Linked DNA regions of Homo sapiens: all the other regions are linked to region 3. Evidence: promoter capture Hi-C in human tissues and cell types (Jung and others, 2019). All regions are on one chromosome and are shown on one strand. Each heading gives the region's core, a stretch centred on a gene start or on the middle of the fragment in contact. The rest is flanking DNA. Distances are from core to core; before and after follow the strand shown.

Region 1 (3,022 bases), core at 298-2,797, 59 kb before region 3:
GATTGCTTGAGCCCAGGAGGTCAAGGCTGCAATGAGCCATGATCCTGCCACTGCACTTCTGCCTGGGTGACAGAGCTAGACTCTGCCTCAAATAAAATAAAATAAAATAAAATAAAATAAAATAAAATAAAATAAAATAAAATAAAATAAAATATTACTTATCGATTTCTGAATCAGGAATGTATCTTGGATTTAAGATTTTCCAATAAACTGCTTATATCCAATAAACTGCTTGAAAGCTTTTTAGTGTTAACATATTAATTGCAATGCATCCTAAGTGAAATGACAATTTCATTTCAAAAGTGAAAGTGAAACTTCAGGCTAGGCGCGGTGGCTCAGCCTGTAATCCCAGCACTTTGGGAGGTCGTGGCAGGCAGATCACTTGAAGTCAAGAGTTCAAGACCAGCCTGGCCAACATGGCAAAACCCTGTCTCTAGTAAAAATACAAAAATTATTCGGGTGTGGCGGCGCAGGCCTGTAGTCCCAGCTACTCTCCTTGAACCCAGAAGGTGGAGGTTGTAGTAAGCCAAGATCATGCCACTGCACTTCAGCCGGGGTGACAGAATGAGACTCTGTCTCAAAAAACAAAAACAGAAAGTGATACTGAAATGTCACTTTTTCTGAACATTATATTTTATACCTGAATTTTCTCTACTCTGTCCTCACCATTTTCTTTGTCATCTAGGTTGAAATTCTTAGAAATTTCTTGTTTAGTTCTAAGTCCACATTCCATATAGCTAATTATTTGCTAAGTCTTAAGGATTCTTTCTTTACAGTGTTTTTCCACATATACCTTCATGTTTACTTTAACTGTCAACTCTTATTTAGAGACTGCAGCAATTATTTTGAACTAATTTCCATTCTCCTTTAATCTCCGTGCTACATTTCATCCTAGATATATGACAGGTTAATCTCATTTTCACTTCACAACTCTTATGCTCAAAGGTCTTTAATAACTCCTTACTAATTTCTAGTTTTGGTTTAAACCTCTCTGCCAAGGGACTCCTAAAACATGTTCCCAAATAATCATTCCAACCTTTTCTCTCAGTGGTACTATTGCACATATCCTGAGCTGCAATTATATTTAACCAATCACTTTTCTTCCTGTCCAGGAAATTTGAACAGAAGTCTTAAAGGTTCCTGAACTGTTAATACCCTTACAAAAAGCATATGGACACCCCTCAAATATTTCTGTGGTTTGTCTTGCAGACTTTGCAATAGCAATTGATCAATGGATGTCTAAGACATCTTTGAAAGACAGAAGAACTGACCCTCCTTTTTACATTCCTTTTTAGAAAAACTAGCTCCACCATCCCTGGATTCTGCCCATACTGGGGACAACATTAGAGAATGGTCTATATGGAATACACAATACCAATGGAAATATTCCCTCCCTAAGCAGAAGACTGAAGCACTTTTCAAGTAAATAGCTCTTCACCTATATCAGCATTTCATTTTATCCACCAGTACATCTAGAACAGCCTATATTCTCTTTAAAAATAAGAAGTGATTTTATAAATGAGTATCCTAAGCAGAAATAGAGAGGATTGCCTTAATTATGCTATCCTTAAAACAAGTCCAACCTTCAGTCTGTAAATTCTACAGAAATAACATTATTTGACCCCAAAAAATAGTAGATTGTAAGTCAACACAAAGCTTCCCTTTTGTGAATGCATTTTAGTATTCCAAGAAATAGGAAAGAAAAAGTATTCACCAGAAACTCCCAGGTACAATATCTGGGATGTGTGCACACTGTGGCAAAGATACAGACACCCCATTTAAACCCTAATTTTTGTGGTGAGTCAATTGTGGGCTGGTAGCAAGAAGACAGGTTCATTATATATACTTCCATGTGTTCCTTTCTCTAATATAGGTTCTGAACAATGACGGGTCAAGTCTGGACGTGGGCCAACTTTATTCTAGACAATTTCCCAGAAAAGTTGAAAATAAAGACCTGGGACATAAATTGGAACCTGAATTAACAATCTCATGGGACAGAGTGGTAGCCTGGTACAGGGGTCTGAACACATCAGAAGAAATATAAATAAATAGAGGAATTTTAAACCAGCAAACAATCACTAAAGTGAGAAAAGAGATTAAACTCATTTTAGCCATACCAAGTCTCAATAAGATTTACTACACACATGTCTTTTCTAAGTAAGTTACTACCAGATATCATGTTGCATATTAAGCAAGGAAATCAAGGCAGAGGAAAAAAATAAGATGTAGAAAACAGTGCATCTTCACTAACATCCTAGCGAATAAAAGTCCCAAAGCCCAGTTTTATATAGAGGAATTTAAATGGTCTTCAATACCGTTATCATTAATCATAATCATTTGTACAAATATTTGTACAATATTTATTGTCCACTTATTATATTCAAGGTGCTGTTTAACATATGCTAACTCCTTAAATACACACACATTCCTATAAATTGGATACAGTTGAGACTAAGTTGTCCAAGGAAAACTATAAGTAGGGACCAGGCCACCAACACTGGCAGTCTAATGCCAAAGACTCAATATCATCTAGTAGTCAGCTATTATTTAATTTGTCAAAAATCACTTGGGTATAAATAAGTGCCCCAAAAAAGGAACATTAAAGTAAAATAAAATTATCTGAATCTAGTATTAAAACTATATATCATATAACTTCTGTTTGGCAAACTAGAAAAAATGGTCATTACCTTGAAATAATTTACTTATCCAACTACACAAACCGATTATCCATGAAAAAAAAATTCTCATTGAATTATTAAGTCCCCTGTTTCTCCAAACCTTGAAACTTCAACATTATGCAATTTTCAGGTCCAATCTGTAAAACTGCATTATAAATTTTATTATGTTTTGTTTTACCACATCAACCACCAAATAATCTCATTTGGGTATATTTAAGAAGGGACCTACCTTATAATATTTATTACAGTAAACTTATATCTATAGTGAAACACCACTCATAATGGAACAATTATTTATCATTTTCATTGATTCAATATAAAGCTATAGCTAATAAAATATGTGA
Region 2 (3,233 bases), core at 341-2,840, 40 kb after region 3:
ACAGAATAGTGTGGAACCATTTCTCTCTAAGGTTTTTAGATCATGGAGAAGCCTAATTCAAAAGGCTCAGAAATCAATCTTTAATGAGGCCCACCATTCTTGTCCTTTTTCCTAACCCTCCAGGATTAATTTTAGGGTTTTAGTAGCTTTTTAACAATTCCAAGAAATACAAAGAGTGCATTTTTCCTCTTCATAGTAGAGTCTGATCTCCCATCAGCAAGAAGCCTATCTCCTTACTGGAAAACAAAAATAGAAATTACCAAAGAGCTTGTTTATTTTTTTTTTCCAAAGGCCTGGCTACTTTCCTAGAATAATAGTTAATCCATTTATTTCCTCCTTTGATTCACTTTCTTCTCTATTTCCCCAAGCTGGCAAGAATAGATGAATATTTTTTTCCCTCCAGTAGGAACAAAATAAAATCAAACAAGTATGAAATCTCAATATGTCATTCTATCTCACTTGTTAAAATGAATGGCTTTACCCATTGTGGCAGCTACTCTGGTTGCCCAGTCAATAGACACCCTCTGCCATTATTCTTCCTTGCTAGAAACACAGAGTAATTTTGTTTGAGTAGTCTTCTGCCATACAATCAGTCTCAGATGTGGTTATAATTCTCACCTACCTCTAGGCCCTAGAGTGAATGATGAATGTTCTAAGATAATCATAAAAATCTTATTACTCTAGCCATTGGTTGGTTTATGTATGAATATTTGTCACATTCTTTGCCAACGAAATCTGATGGAAAGCTTCCTTCTTAGAAAGGTTTTCCTCACTAGATCATATAGACAGATAAGAAAAAAAAATGCCCAGTTCCCCATTGGATGATGTTGCATTTACATGTGATGACTGAAATTGTGGAGTCCTCATATGTAAATGTAGTAATACTTAGCATGACTGTCATGCTAAGTATGGCAAGACAGAAAGATGGACTAGGACATCACTAATTCCTGAAGTATTCATCCTGAAAGACCTTTCCTGTTATATAAGAAAACAAGGCTTATTCTTTAAGCCACTTTTACTAGGGTCTTCAGTTACAACTGGAAGAAACCTATTTGACAATCCAATTTTCTTATACAGGTATTTTTATAAACGTATTTGTCTACCTATAATGAGCATTAAAATAGCAAAAATAAAATAAACTAACCCTCTTTAACAAATAGGAGTGTTACTATATGAAATAAAGTCATCTGGTATGTAGAACAAATTGTGCAGAGTTTCATTTTTCTTACCAGGAAACCAGATTGTTTTATTATCTGATAATACTTATTCATACAGCTTTAGTTAAGAATTCAAGCTAACAAAAATGTTGGTCCCATTGATGTGTTTACTTTTTCAAGGAAGTTGTGGTCACATTATTAGCTACTTTCCCTGATAATTACATTTTTTGCTTTTACATAAAGGTACACTGGATGATTGATTGATTGATCTTCAGACTACAATCATCAAACAGAACCTCCAGACTTCCATTTTCTATTTATCTATGTCCTAAAGAATCACCTTCCTTTCTGTTTTTAAAGACTCTCTTACCCTGCCAAGGATGTTATCTTAGAAACCTGTTGGGCAGTGGTAGGACAGGTTTCTATCCAGACACTGTTCTTGTTACGTATATCAGCACATGTTCTTATTAAACGTCTCAACAACTCTCATAAGCAAATGCCAGTGTTATATCCACCTCAGCTGTATGACGAATCACTTAGTAACACAGGTGAGAATATTCCATTCTTTCACAGGGCTATCACCTCCAATCTACACAACTTAATACTTCATTGAGAGAATAGTGCTTATGAAGGCTTGCCAAATATTACAAAAAATTCATATTTGACATACTTGTAAAATTTTACCTTGAATTTAACTAGTCTTCAGCTTCTCATTGATGGAATTGTTGCTAAGGTTTTGGTGGGGATGATATTCACTGATTATACCGTATTATTTTTATAGAGAACTACATAGAAAATGTCTTTTGGTTCCTGGTATCAGGAATTCTTATGCTTCTGTTAAAAAGAATGATTCACTTTTATCCTCTAAGTACTGTAAGAAATTACATATTTACTTCTTTGTGTCATTTTCTAAAAACATCAAAGGCCCATGTGGCCCATATCTAGCAAAATTCATGGATCAATCTAACCTTTTGCTTTCTATTCTTGTTTTTTCTACTTTTAAAACATTTTTACCACGCTTACTTTCCTTTGCTATAATCTTCTCACTCACTAATTTGCCAGCTTCCACATATCCACCCCACTTCGCTCATCAGAATGCTGAGAGTTTTACATTTAAGTTTCTCTTAAACTATTTTTTATTTCCAATAAAATCACCTTAGGACAGGTTGCTACAATCTCTCTTTTAAAGCTATGAGAGTTCGCCAAATTCCTTTTGGGCCCTCTCTAATTCATTCTGTTGACTGTTGGCAAATAATCTTTTCAACATGAAAATTTGATTGGGTACTTCTAAGACAAAACTTCTGCCAGAACAACACACACACACACACACACACACACACTCCTCAAATTCTTATTACCTTACGTAAAACTGCCAAATCCTGGAGAATTATAAGACCAAAGGGAAACTATTTCCATTCTCTATGTTACTAGCCCAGACCATAAAAGAGAAACTTTCAACTTCCTGGGAGATGAAAAGGTGGTTTCTTCCCTTCCTTCTTTGTCCTTCCCATGCTCTTTACCATGGATGAAATGTTTATCTGGTTGGAAAGATTGGAGAAGTGATTAAACATGTATATCTCACATATTCTGCACAGTTTCCTTGGTTCTGCAAACATCAAATAAATTGTGGATTCATGAGGAAGATGATGCATAGTTGGCAGGCAAGATTCTATTAGTTTCCTACGGCTGCTATAAAAAAGTACCACAAAATGGGTGGCTTGAACCTACAAATATATTGCCTCACAATTCTGGAGGCTAGAAGTCTGAAGTCAAGGCTTTGGTGGGTCAATGCTCTCTCTGAAAACTGTGAGAGATCATTATTTCTTGCCTCTTTTTAAATTTTGGTGATGGTTGCGGATTGTTCCTTGTCTCTCAACTGCATCATTCCAATCTCTACCTCTGTGGTCACATGGTGTTCTTCCTGTGGGTCTCTGTGTCTTCACATGGCATTCTCTTCTCTGTATCTTTCTTTTCTTCTTATAAGGACACCAGTCATATTGGATTCAGGGCCCACCCTACTCCAGTGTGACTTTATTTAATTAATTAACTAAATTTGAAATAACATTTTTTCCAAGC
Region 3 (3,030 bases), core at 468-2,967:
ATAGCATTTCTTTAAATAAATGAAAATTAAATAGTAGTGTTTCTTACTATTTCTTTTGTTGTTTTCATTAAATGTGTTGACTTTGAAAAAGAACCGTTAGTCTAAAAACACTGAAGGCACTGTTAGCAGGATTGAGATTCAAAAGGCTAAGTCAATTGTAAAGAACAAGAATTTTTTTTAATGCAGTACAAACTCAGGAATTTTAGCTTATGTAGTTTCAAAAATAAAACAAAAAGCACCTGTGTCATCAACGTAACTCTAATTCAGGGCAAGCACCTACAATTGCAAACTCTCTTTAGGGTCCTTTTATAGCACAGATAACCGATTTAGTGTCATTTTCTCTCTTCTTTTGGTTCTACTGGAGCCCAGATACAAGTAATATGAACTCTGTTGTCACCTATGACCTTTCTATGATGAAAAAAAGATTAGACTGTTATCTCTTGACTGTGAGACAATGTAAAGTTCGTCTGGAAAAGCCTTTCAGAGTGATACTCAATTGTCCTAAGGCTGATAATCAGACGTGTAAGGTAATTCTAAAAACAATGTACAGAAATTTATAGAAAAACATAAGGCAACCAAGTTTAGAAATAAATTACTTCCAAAGAGGCTGTGGGTGAAATATCACTAATGCCTACTATTATTTTCATCGCTACTGTTTAGTTTATATTCTATAAACAAATTTTTTCACTCAAATCTATTTTTTATTCAAGGAATGATAGCTGCATAACTTATGACTTTACTACAAACAAAACTTTCAACATATTGCTCTATACTCTCCTAAATTTAAAGTGTTTGCTTAAAACAGCTTTCTCTATAAATTGTATAGTTTTACTGAAGCAAGGAAGGTAACATTTGCCATTAAAACTGAATAAATAGAAAAAAATTCTCTAGTAGTCTATATTCTAAAACATTGGATATTTAAAAAATATTAAAACTTAATAAGGAGTTATTTTTTGCCAGTAAACAGAATTTATTAGTAAGCATAAGTCAGACCAGCATGGCCCAAGGAGACAGTACTGCCAAAACCTTCATGAGTGCAGAACCCGCCACTTGTCCAAGGGGCCATGACTGGGAACGTACTTGACTCCACAACCATCAGGGATGAGGCACTTCTTGGCCACCATGTCTTCAAATTCGTCAGCATTAAACTTCGTGAAGCCCCACTTCTTGGAGATATGAATCTTCTGGCGTCCAGGGAACTTGAACTTGGCCCTGCGCAAGGCTTCAATCACATGCTCCTCGTTCTGAAGCTTGGTGCGGATGGACATGATGACTTGACCAATGTGGACCCGGGCTACAGTACCCTGGGGTTTTCCAAAGGCACCTCGCATACCTGTCTGGAGCCTGTCAGCCCCAGCACAGGACAACATCTTGTTGATGCGGATGACATGGAAGGGATGGAGCCGCACTCGCATGTGAAAGCCATCTCTGCCACAACTTTTCACCATGTATTTGTTGGCACAAATACGGGCGGCCTCCAGGGCTTCAGAAGACAGCTGCTCATATTCATCAGACACCATGTGGCCACCGAGTGGGAACTCATCCACTTTTGCCTTCTTTCTACCCAGGTCAAAGATGCGGATCTTGGCATCAGGAACCCCTCGGCAGAAACGAGATTTTGGGTACGGCTTGTTCTTACAATACCGGTAACAGCGAGCTGGACGGCGCCCCATGGCGACACAGTAACGTCGGCGGTGCCTCGAAGTCAAAATGCGCTCTCTTAACTACGCCTGCGCGCATTTATATACGTTGCCCCTCGTCCCTCGCGGGAACCATAGAGTCCTGAGGCCGGAACCATAGAGTCCTGAGGAGGATGTGACGACTCTCTTTCAGGACGTCCCAACCAGAGACGCAGGGACGTCTGGCGCCTCAGCGCCTGCGCCAAGTGGCGCGCTTAAGGTGAGCAGAGTCAGCTGTGGGTAGACTCCCCCTGGCGGCCAGGGAAGGAATTGGGCCCCGCCCCAACTGCACAGCTGCTGCTTCCTTTCTGCTAGCCATCTTGGGCTAGGAACTCTTGCTTTCAGCTTTGCTTTAAGTATAAAAGAGGTTATTTCCAGGCAGGAGAATCTCTTGAGCTCAGGAGTTCGAGGCCAGCCTGGGCAATATAGTGAAATGCTGTCTCTACAAAAAAAAAAATATATATATATCAAATAGCTGGGCATGGTGGCACATGCTTGTAGTCCCAGCTACTCAGGAGGCTGAGGTGGGAGGATCGCCTGGGCCCTGCAGGCAGAAACTGCAGTGAGCTGAGATAGCACCACTGCACTCCAGCTTGAGTGACAGAGGGAGACCCTGTCTAAAGAAAAAGAAAAAAAGAAATCCTAGAATTTGAGAGGAAAAATCCTTCCAGTTATTCAACATGCTGTTTCCAGTTTGGTCAGTTCATTTTCCAGAGCTTGTATCTCACTGTCAGCATTTGTAGATCAATTGCTGTTTCTTGGGTTATGTGGCCACCTTCCCTGGATAAAGTGGTTTCTTGGCATGAGTGCTTTGATGAGACTCAGGAAGAGATGAGAGGAAGAGAAGAGAGAGGGATAAAGAGAAGATATCTGTTGTATCTGTAGCTTGGCAATTGTTTTATAAACATGAAACTTTGTTTTTTCTTTATTTGGCCTAAAGAAATGATTTTATTATCAAAATGATATATACAAAATTGAAACACCAACTAGATTTTTTTTAACTTAAGGCTATTTGCATTTTCAAATGTTAAAGCTGCTGAAACTATATAAAAGAGTAACAGTTTGTGTTTTAGTAATCTTTTGCCCCTGAGAATAAATTTAAACTTTTTTTCTTCTCAGAGTTTGTAAAAATATTATGACAGGGATCAGAGTGTAGGAAAGGAGGAAGAAGAGAGAGGAAAAGAAATTAATAGTTTACAAACCCTACTTGCATTTTTCTAGTTTTCTTTTTTGTTTTAATGTTGTTTCACAAATCCATTACATCATGGAACAAAATCCCCCCAATGTGAATATATTCTGTCAATACTCTTTGTTTTAAGGGAGAAAAATAACTCCTGCCCTTAAAGTGAGT

What was found. Contacts are between HindIII fragments. The study calls those that stand out against the background at their distance.
Region 1: a fragment that was not itself captured here is called in contact with the fragment with the promoter of RPL10L in region 3 in 2 of the 25 tissues and cell types used here (dorsolateral prefrontal cortex and mesenchymal stem cells).
Region 2: a fragment that was not itself captured here is called in contact with the fragment with the promoter of RPL10L in region 3 in 3 of the 25 tissues and cell types used here (adrenal gland, dorsolateral prefrontal cortex and spleen).

What each region holds. Positions count from the first base shown.
Region 1 is chr14:46,591,295-46,594,316 of GRCh38, forward strand. No RefSeq gene overlaps it. Among named protein-coding and RNA genes, the nearest start is that of RPL10L, 59 kb to the right of the region's middle. The HindIII fragment of the contact is 5,172 bases long and covers 1-3,022 here.
Region 2 is chr14:46,690,418-46,693,650 of GRCh38, forward strand. No RefSeq gene overlaps it. Among named protein-coding and RNA genes, the nearest start is that of RPL10L, 40 kb to the left of the region's middle. The HindIII fragment of the contact is 3,642 bases long and covers 1-3,233 here.
Region 3 is chr14:46,650,064-46,653,093 of GRCh38, forward strand. RPL10L (ribosomal protein L10 like) reads right to left here and starts at 1,718. Exons shown (of 1, transcript NM_080746.3): 1 at 947-1,718. The coding sequence starts at 1,673. The coding sequence ends at 1,029. The region is part of intron 3 of LOC105370481 (a long non-coding RNA gene); the gene reads right to left. The HindIII fragment of the contact is 6,030 bases long and covers 1-3,030 here.